2 separate regions of the Homo sapiens genome follow, and region 2 is linked to region 1. Evidence: promoter capture Hi-C in 16 types of primary human blood cells and fetal thymus (Javierre and others, 2016). All regions are on one chromosome and are shown on one strand. Each heading gives the region's core, a stretch centred on a gene start or on the middle of the fragment in contact. The rest is flanking DNA. Distances are from core to core; before and after follow the strand shown. Region 1 holds the start of ICOSLG (inducible T cell costimulator ligand). Region 2 has its middle 8.7 kb from the start of LINC01678.

Region 1 (4,524 bases), core at 670-3,169:
CTGTTTCAGATCCTGCTGCAGCTGGTGCCCCTGCCTCGGGCAGCAAATTCCCCTCGTGACTCCAATGCCCCTGCCATCTTGGGTCTGGGAGCCTTTGCACCCTGCACGCCACAGGCTCGCCACCTCCTCCCGCCAGCCCCCAGGATGCCTTCCCCACGTGGGGGCCCTTAGTGGCCGGGACCACTTTGGTAGCAGTGCTTACCCCAGCCCCCCAAACCATCAGTTTCTGGGGCCAGCTCCCCATGAAGCAAGAGCCCCAGGAGCAGGGACATCTCCTTCTCTGATGTCCCTGCACCTCCAAGGTCTGGGAGACGCTCATCCCTCTTCTCTGTGGCCTCTGCCTGGGAAAGCTTGGGGGCTTTGTAAGTCAAAGGTTGGTCTTGTGGGAACCTCCCAGTGGGCTGTCCCTGAGCCCTGGAGCCACAGAAACCCCTGCCCCACCCACGATGGCTGTCATCTGAGTCTGCATGGAGGTGTGTCTGTGCCAAGTGAGCACACATGCACCAAGGCGGCCCCTGGCCACCAGGGGCTCTTGAAGTCTGCAGGCGGCCCTTCCTCTCTCTCCCACTCCCCCTGTTGGGGCCACCATTCTGGCTGGCAAGATGGCTGTGATGGCCTCCAGCAGGCCCCCTGCCTCCACCCTTAGCCCCTTCAAGCATTTCCCCAGAGCCACCATCTAAACGACAGCTGTGAGAACTCCTCTGTGCCCCCATTTGTCTCCCACAGTGCCCATATTCATCACCAGCCCACAAGGCCCCTCCTGTCTATGGAGGCCTCCTCAGGACATCTGGGGGCTTCCTGGGCCAGGGTGGGGGGTGCCTGCTCCAGGCTGTTTCTGGCTTGTCCCCTCCCTGGGTGCTGCCTAAGCAGCGGCCTCTGTGTCCTTTCCTTGGACCCTCAGCACCCCTGCATCTAACCTACCCCCACCCCGAGCTTGCCTCAAGACCCAGCATGGACAGGGCCGCCTACCTGAAGGTGTGGGTGGCGGAGGGCTAAGACATTTGGGAGGGCTATGACATTCCGGGACCTTTAAATTCTTTCTCTCTAGGGCAGGATCATAACTGCATACACTTCTAATGGGGAGGGGACCTGGGGAGTGTGACTCCGGTGTGGCCCAGCTCTGAGCTGTGCGGGAGGCATCCCTGGGGTCAGGGGCCTCACAGGTTCACCCAGGGGAGCACAGGCTGCGGACCCTACAACGTGGGTTGCGAAGAGTATATTTTGGATATTTTCGCAAAAATCCAGGAGGAAGCTGTCACTCCTGGTTCAGGCAGCCCCGCCTTCCCCAGTGTGGATCGGCTGCCGGGCTGCGGGGAATCCCACGTGTGTGGGGGAGGGCGTGTCCGCAGACCGTGGGCACCAGCTGGCCTTGGAGAGCGCTCGGCCGGTCACCTCCCTCCTTCTCCCTTCTTCTAGGAAATCAGCAGTGCCAGGGAGTGGAAGGGGCAGCGCCCGTGCCCCGGCGTGCAGGGTGCGCCCGCCTTCCCTCCCTCCTTCCAGCGTTCGCGGTCCTCCTTCCCTGGCAGGGACCCCGCCCCCGAGCCCGCCCCCGCACGGCTGTGCGTCCTGCCATGGGTCCCGGTGCCAGGCCCCGCCGCCCACTGCCGTCCACGCCCCGCCGGCCGCCCCGGCGCCTCCGCCGCCCGCTCCTCGGACCCGCACTGCCAGCCCGGCACCTCCAGGCGAGCCCCGCAGGCCCCGCGTCCGAGCCGAGCTGGGGACGCGCGGGCCGAGCCACCCCGCCCCTGACCGCGGCGCCTCCGCTCCTTCCCCGGCTCACCTGCCCAGCCGCATGGTGCGGGCGGAGACCTCGGGCCGCGGAGACCTCGGGGCGCGGAGACCTCGGGGCGCGGAGAACTTGGGCCGCGGGAGACCTCGGAGAGGAGCAACCTCGGGGCGCGGGAGATCGGCTCTAACTGCGCTCCCGCCGCGCCCGAGGCTCTGAGCGCCCAGCGCGCGGTGTGCTGGAGGCAGCCGTGTCCCCGCCCCGTCCCCGCCCCGCCCCCGGCCTGGCTCCTCTGGCGACCGAGACCGCCCCGGGACAGGAGGCGGGGCGCTGCGCGGCGGCTCCGGAAAGTTCGGCTCTGCCCAGGCGTGTGCCCGTCGGCCGGAGGCGGGACAGAGGCAGGTCGGCCTGTCCGCCTGGACGCGGACCTGGGCGCCGTAGGTGCCCTGGGAAGCGCAGGGGTGGGGGGTACCCGGCAGGAAGGTGGCCAGGGGTGCTGCGGGTGCCGGCGCAGCGAGGGAGGGCACCGTGGGAGGCAAGGGCCGTTCCCCGCGCCGCGCACAATGCGCCGGTCCTGCGGCCCTCCCCGAGCAGGAGTCCGGGGACCCAGGCCCCAAGGCTGGGAGAGCGCCAGGCCCCTGGCCGGCTGCGCTCCGATGATCTCCAGGACTTAAGGCGAGTGAGCTCAGCGACTGCTGAGGAATGAATGACTGAATGAACGCATGCATGAATGGAAGGAGGGAGGGAAAGTGGGCGGGCTCTACCCTCTGGGCCAGCCCCAGCCCGCCCCCACCTAGCCTTGCTCCCCTAGCCTTCTAGGGGTGTGAAGGGCGCTGGCGCAGCCTCTTTGCTTAACACTGGCTCTGAGGATCCCCCGCCGAGAAACCGAGGCAGGCTTGCGGCTCTGGGCTCGTCAGCCTTGGCAGTGGCGTCTGGCCTGGAGTCTGGGGCAGCTGGTTTGGGAAAGGCTGCACCACGCAACCGAGGGTGGGACCCAGAGTCCCTGCTCCTTCCCCACCGCACCCAGCCCACCCCGCCCTCCCTCCCTGATCCCTGCAAGCCAGGTGAGGCCCAGGGGGGACGTGACTCCCTTTCTGCAGAGGCACCTCCGGAAGGGCCTGGGTGAGGCTGCTAGACAGGGCAGCGGGGCACCCTCCTCCCGGAGCCCCCGCCTCTGGGCTGAGGCTCGGATCCCCACCGCCTCCTGCGCATGGAGGAGGCGAGAAGCGCAGGGAGACGGGGGCCCCAGACGGCACCCCGCAGGCTGCCATTCCTTCAACCAAGATGTAGAGAACGCCGTGGACAAAAGCTTTAAAAAAATTCTGAAACCTCTGCCCGTGGGAAGTCAACATTTTTGCGGAGCAGAGAGCCCAGGCACAAAATAAGAAGGCGGAAGAGACGGGCTGGGGGGATAGGGGGGACGGCGGCGGGGAAGGGCAGGGAGGGCGGCGGCGAAGGCGCAGGAAGCCCTGAAGCCGGGCGGCTTCCCCCTCCCAGGCCACGCTGAGAGACGGGGGTTGGGGGGATTTAAAATCGCGCGCCTGGCAGGGGCGGGGCGGGGGCCACCTGCCCTCCGGCGGGAAGAGCTGGGCAGGGCCCGCGGAGTGCAGGGCGGAGGCACTGGCGGTCCGCACCCGGGTGAGGTGAGGCGCGTAACCGCATCTGAGCCGGACTCTTTAGGACGAGTCCCGTCCCTGGAGTCAGAAAACCCGGTCCAGCGCCAGCGTGGACGTGCGCTTCCCGGGACACGCCCAGGGACGCCGGCTAGGACCGGCGAGGCTGGAGGGGTGGCGATGTTGGGGGCTGAGGTTCCTCGCCCCGGGGCGGGCGGCTGCTGGTAAGGGACCGCATGGCCCCGCAGGTGAGGAGGGCGCAGGTGAGGAGGGCGCAGGTGAGCCGGGCGGGCTGCGGGCAGCGCCACCTCCTCCCGGAGGCCCTCCCTGATTGACCGGCCGGGAACCGCGCGCCTCTGGGCCTGCGGCTGAGGTCCGGGGCTGCGCCGCGCCGATGAGCTGACGCCGGGCCGAGCGCTCCACCCCCAGGGCCGGGCGCACCTGAATCCCCTCCACCCGCGGGACTGCGGAGAGGGGGACGGCCCCCGGATACCGCGTGGGGGCTTTGGGAGGATGGGGAATGGGTCCTGGGGGAGCAGAGCCTCCCAAATTAAGGCCTCCCAAGAGCGCGGCCGGTCATCCGCGGCGGCGAAGGGAAGGTGCCCTGTCGGTGCGTCCGGACCCCGCAGCCCCCCAGTGCCGCCCGGGGGCGGTGGGAGAGGGGCCGACACCGCAGGGCCCGCCGTGCTGTGGCCGAGGGGGCAGGTCCAGGCTCTGCTTCCCGGGCAGACGCCGGAGACCCCAGCAAGCCAAGTGCTGCGGGCAGCCCCCCCCCCGCCCCCCCGAGAGAGGGGACGCCGCGTGGAGGCCACAGCCAGGCAGGGGCAGGAAGGCAGCTGGGCCAGAAGGGGACACTGAGGCAGGCCGAGGCGGCCGCGGGGGAGGGTGCCAGGACCAGCCCAGGAACCTCGGAGACCACGGTAAGCGGTGGCTGGTTCAGATCCCAACTCCGGAGCTGTGTGACCCCAGAAAGTTCCTTAGCCCCTTGGTGCCTGCATCCCCTGACGTGTGACATATACATGAATGGGGCTGTTGTAAGTGAACGCACACAGCACACCGGCACATGTGTCACAACACTTAGATGGGTTTAGATGAAGAAACAGGGAAACCTTTGGGAAGTTTCCTGTAGTCAAAGGAAGGTTTTCGTTTTCCCCCTCAACCGTGACTGTTTCTTGGGCCGGCAGG
Region 2 (4,776 bases), core at 2,057-4,556, 89 kb before region 1:
TTCCTCTAGGGCTCCCTCAACATCACCTTTTCTGTTTTGTTTTAAATAGACTTTATTTTCTAGTGCAGTCTTAGCTTCATGGCAAAATGGAGCAGAAGGTACAGAGAGTCCCACACACTCCCTGCCCCCACGCATGCACGGCCTCCCTCACCATCACCCCCGCACACCCCCGCCCGCCAGAGCACACATTTATTAAGGCAGCCAACCCACACGGATGCGCCATCACCCCGAGTCCACGGCATCCGTTAGAGCCCACTCTTGGTGTTAGCCATTCCGTAGATTGGGACAAATGTAGGACACGGGTCCGCCATTTACAGAGAATGCAAAATGGTTTCATTGCCCTGAAAACCCTTGGCTCTGCCCGTTCCTCCCCCACCCTCCACCCCCGTAACCACTGATGGTTTTTACTGTCCCCACAGTTTTGCCTTTTCCAGAATGTCATGTGGTTGGACTCATGCACTATGTGGCCTTTTCTGATTGACTCCTTTCGCCTGGTAATAGCATTTATATTTCCTCTGTGTGTTTTCATGGCTTGACAGCTCATTTCTTTTTAGTGCCGAATAATATTCCATTGTTTGGCTCTACCACAGTTTATCCATTTACCCTCTCTCAAGAGCATCTTAGGCTTGTCCCAGTTTGGGGCATTTATGAATAAAGCTGCTATAAACACCGGTGTGGAAGTTTTGGTGTGGACATACATTTTCACCTCTTTTGGGTAAATCCCAAAGGGGATTTACCAGGGAGTGTGATTGCCGGATCATATGGTGAGAGTTTTGCAAGAAGCTGCCAAACTGTCTTCCCAAGTGGCTGCACCATTTTGTGTTCCCACCAGCAATGAATGGGCGTTCCTGTGGCTTCACGTCCTCACCAGCATTTGGTGGTGTTCGTGTTTTGGATTTTGGCCAGCTGATAGGTGTGTAGTGGTATATTGTTTTAATTTGCTATTTCCTACTGACATATGATGCTGAGCCCCTTTTCATGGCTTATTTACCATCTGCGTATCTTCTTTGGTGAGGTATCTGCTCAGAATGTTTGCCTATTTTTAAATTGGTTGTCCCTTTTCTTTTTGTTGAGTTGTAAGAGTTGTTTGTAAATTTTGGCTCGTAATCCTTTCATGGATATCTCATTTCTAGTTATTTTCTCCAGGTTTGGGGCTTGTTCTTCTTATTCTCTTGACAGTGCCTTCACAGAGCAGTTTTTAATCTTAATGAAATCGAGTTTCTCACTGGTTTCTTCTTGGATTGTGGTCCGCCCCCGCCTTATTAAAAAAAGAAAGAAAGAAAGAAACAGGGTCTCACTGTGTTGCCCAGGCTGGTCCCAAACTCCTGGGCTCAACTGATCCTCCTGCCTCAACCTTCCAAAGTGCTGGGATGCCAGGTGGGAGCCACTGGGCTCAGTCTTGTGTTTTTAAAACTCATCACCAAACCCTCGGTCATCTAGATTTTCTCCTGTGTTATCTTCTAGGAGTTTGATAGTTTTGCATTTCACATTTAGGTCTGTGATCATTCTGAGTGAATTGCTGTAGGGGTGGAATGTGTGTGTTGGGATTCATTTTGGGAATGTGAACGCCCCGTTGTTTGGCTCCATTTGGTGGAGGCTGTGCCCCATTGCATTGCTTTTGCCGCTTTGTCACAGACCAGTTGACTCTCCATGCGGATTTGTTTCTGGGCTCTCTCTCCGCTTTCACTGGTCTGTTTTGCCAACACCCTGTCGTGAGTACTGTAGCTTTATAGTAAGTCCGGAGCCTGCCAAGTCTTCAGAGTTGTAATCTGCCCCTATCAGATGTCCAAACCATGCCCCCAGGGCCCTGAGATCAGATCCCCAGGAGGGCCTGGCTGGAGTACCCATAGCCCTGAGCGCCAGGAGAGCAGGGTCTGCCTGCTGTGGGAGGTCTGTCCTCGTGAGGCCGGACACCCAGCCCTGGTTGTCCTGGTCCACCTGGTATGACCCTGCCCTGTTCCTGCTTCTCCCAAGCACCCGTGACCCTGGGAAGCCTGTCACAAACACCTCCCTGGACAACCCATGCTACAGAGTGCACCACGCCAATTGCCACCACAGCCTCAGGCAGCACTGTCACCCACAGCAGAGGCCGCCCTCACAATCTCACACTTCAGGAGCCCAGGTGGGACGCTAGCCAGGGTCCCTAGAGGTGGCTTTGCCGGCCCAGGCAGCCCCATCTCTCCGGGACCCCGCTGCTCCCTGGGTCCAGCCCAGGCCCTGATTCAGCAGCAGCTCCATAAAGAAGTAAAACGAGAATATTCACGGGGCCCACACTTAGTGGACTCCTGTCACATGGTGTCCAGCATGGCTCGTGGGTGAGGACAGCAAAACCACCAAGAAATGACCCGAGAGGCCAACAGCAGCTCCCTGGGAAGGCCACACTCTCCAGGAAGACATAGCAACTCTGAAACACACAACTTAGGTAGAAATCTAACAAGATATTTACAAGATCTGTGAGGAAAATTATAAAACTTTAATAAGTCAAAGAGGTAAAATGGAAAGATATTCCACACCCCTTATTATGCATAACTCCTTTTATTCCTGATAAGCTTCTTTGCTCTGAAGTGTGCTCTGAAATTAATATAGCTATTCCAGCTTTCTTGTGATTAATGTGAGTATGGTATTTCTTCCTCTGTTCATTTACTTTTAATCTACATGTGTCTATTTATTTATTTATTTATTTATTTATTTAGAGACAGAGTCTTGCTCTGCCACCCATCTCTACAGTGATGAGATCATGGCTCACTGCAACCTCCGCCTCCCGGGTTCAAGTGATTCTCCTGCCTCAGCCACCTGAGTAGCTGGTCTACAGGCACAAGCCACCACGCCTGGCTAATTTTTGTATTTTTAGTAGAGATGGGGTTTTGCCGTGTTGGCCAGGCTGGTCACGAACTCCTGACCTCAAGTGATCCGCCCGCCTCTGCCATCCAAAGTGCTGGGGTTACAGGCGTGAGCCACTGCGCCCAGCCATTGTTTTTATTTTTAAAGTGGGTTTTGTGTAGATAACATATAGTTAGGTCTTATTTTTTGATCCGTTTTGACAATCTCTGTCTTTTAATTGGTGCATTTATACCACTGACATTCAAAGTCACTGTTGATATAGTTGGATTAATATCTACCATGTTTGTTCCTATTTTCTATTTTTTGTTTTTGTTTTTTATTTTTTCTGCCTTTTGTGGTTTTAATTGACCATTTTATGATTTTATTTTCTATTCTTTCTTAGACATCAATTATACTTTTTCACATTTTCAGTGGTTACCCTAGATTTTGTGATACACATTTCCAACTATTTCAAGCCCACTTTCAAATAACACTGAACTGCTTGCTAATCGGTAGCCCAAGTATTTTTTGTTTTGTTGTTTTTTGAGACAGGGTCTTGCTCAGTCGCCCAGGCTGGAGTGCAGTGGTGTGATCACGGCTCACTGCATCCTGGAACTCTTGGCTCAGCCTCCTGAGTTGCTGGGACCACAGGCGCATGCCACAGCACCTAGCTAATTTTTGTATTTTTTATAGAGACGGGGTTTTGCCACGTTGCCCAGGCTGGCCTCAAACTCCTGGCTCAAGCAATCCACCTGCCTTGGCCTCCCAAAATGCTGGGATTATAGGCGTGAACCTCTGTGCCCCACCAAAAGTATCTTTTAATAACAGTATGTTCCCAATTCTTCACTCCTGTCCCCTGTATCACTGCTATTATTAGTTTCACTTATACATAAGCATATATAATCAAGTACATTGTTATAACTTTAACAAACTTTTGTCTGTTCCATTAAGATTAATGGCCAGGCATTGTGGCTCATACCTATAATCCCAACACTTTGGGAGACTGAGGTGGGAGGATCGTTTGAGGCCAGGAGTTCAAGACCAGCTTGAGCAACATAGTGAGAGCCCATCTCTCCAAAAATTAAAAAACGAGCTGGGCATGGTAGTGTGCACCTGTGGTCCCAGCTACTTGGGAGGCTGAGGTGGGAAGATCGCCTGAGCCCAGGTGATCAAGATTGCAGTGATTACACCATTGCACTCCAGAACAAGACCCTGTCTCAAAAAAAAAAAGAGTAAGAAAAATAAAAGCTTTTATTACCTTTCTTATTCCTTCTCGATCACTCGTGCCTTTCTTTATGTAAATCCAAGTTTCTGACTTGTACATTTTTTTTCCTCTCTAAAGAACTTTTAACACCTTTTGCAAAGCAGGTCTACTAGTAACAAATTCTCAATTTTTGTCTAAGTCTATTTTTCCTTGACTTTTGAAGGATAATTTCGCTGGATACAGAATTCTAGGCTTGTGGATTTTTTCTCAACACTTTAAATATTTCAGTCCACTGTATTTTTACTTGCACAGTTTCTGTAAAGTCAAAACTAATTCTATAAGAAATGAATGTATTCTTTGTCTGTAGTTTAGGTGTTCCTCCCCACCCGCTGCTGGCTTCTTTCAAGATTGTTTCTTTAACTTTCTGCAGTTTCAATACCAAATGCCTAGGTGTAGATTGGGCATGATACCGCTTTTAGCCTGCTCTAAAACACAAGCAGGACTTGGTGCCTGGACAGGCACCCAGCAGGGGAGACAGTTCCAGGACTCACCCCAGCTGCTGCGAGCGTTTCCCTGCAGGAATGGGATGTGGCTGGGGAAGGGGTGTGGCTGTGGAAGAGGTGTGGCTGCGGAAGCCTTCCAGGCTCCTGCTGGGTCTGGAAGTGCTCCCTACCCCCGTGTCTGTGTTGCTTTCCTGGGGCCTCCAGCCGTGGTGAGAAAGGCGTGGGTGGGGGCCGAGGGAGGGGCTGGCT

Evidence for each region. The method cuts DNA at HindIII sites, captures the fragments that hold promoters and counts their contacts. A CHiCAGO score of 5 or more calls a contact.
Region 2: a contact is called between a fragment that was not itself captured here and the fragment with the promoter of ICOSLG in region 1, in 6 of 17 cell types (total B cells, naive B cells, M0 macrophages and 3 more). The highest score is 12.1, in total B cells.

Annotation. Positions count from the first base shown.
Region 1 is chr21:44,239,024-44,243,547 of GRCh38, forward strand. ICOSLG (inducible T cell costimulator ligand) reads right to left here and starts at 1,920. Exons shown (of 7, transcript NM_015259.6): 1 at 1,781-1,920. The coding sequence starts at 1,794. RefSeq lists enhancers at 397-1,175, 3,680-4,218 and cis regulatory regions at 1,731-2,730, 1,731-2,655, 1,731-2,646. The HindIII fragment of the contact is 2,685 bases long and covers 349-3,033 here.
Region 2 is chr21:44,148,731-44,153,506 of GRCh38, forward strand. No RefSeq gene overlaps it. Among named protein-coding and RNA genes, the nearest start is that of LINC01678, 8.7 kb to the right of the region's middle. The HindIII fragment of the contact is 1,519 bases long and covers 2,548-4,066 here.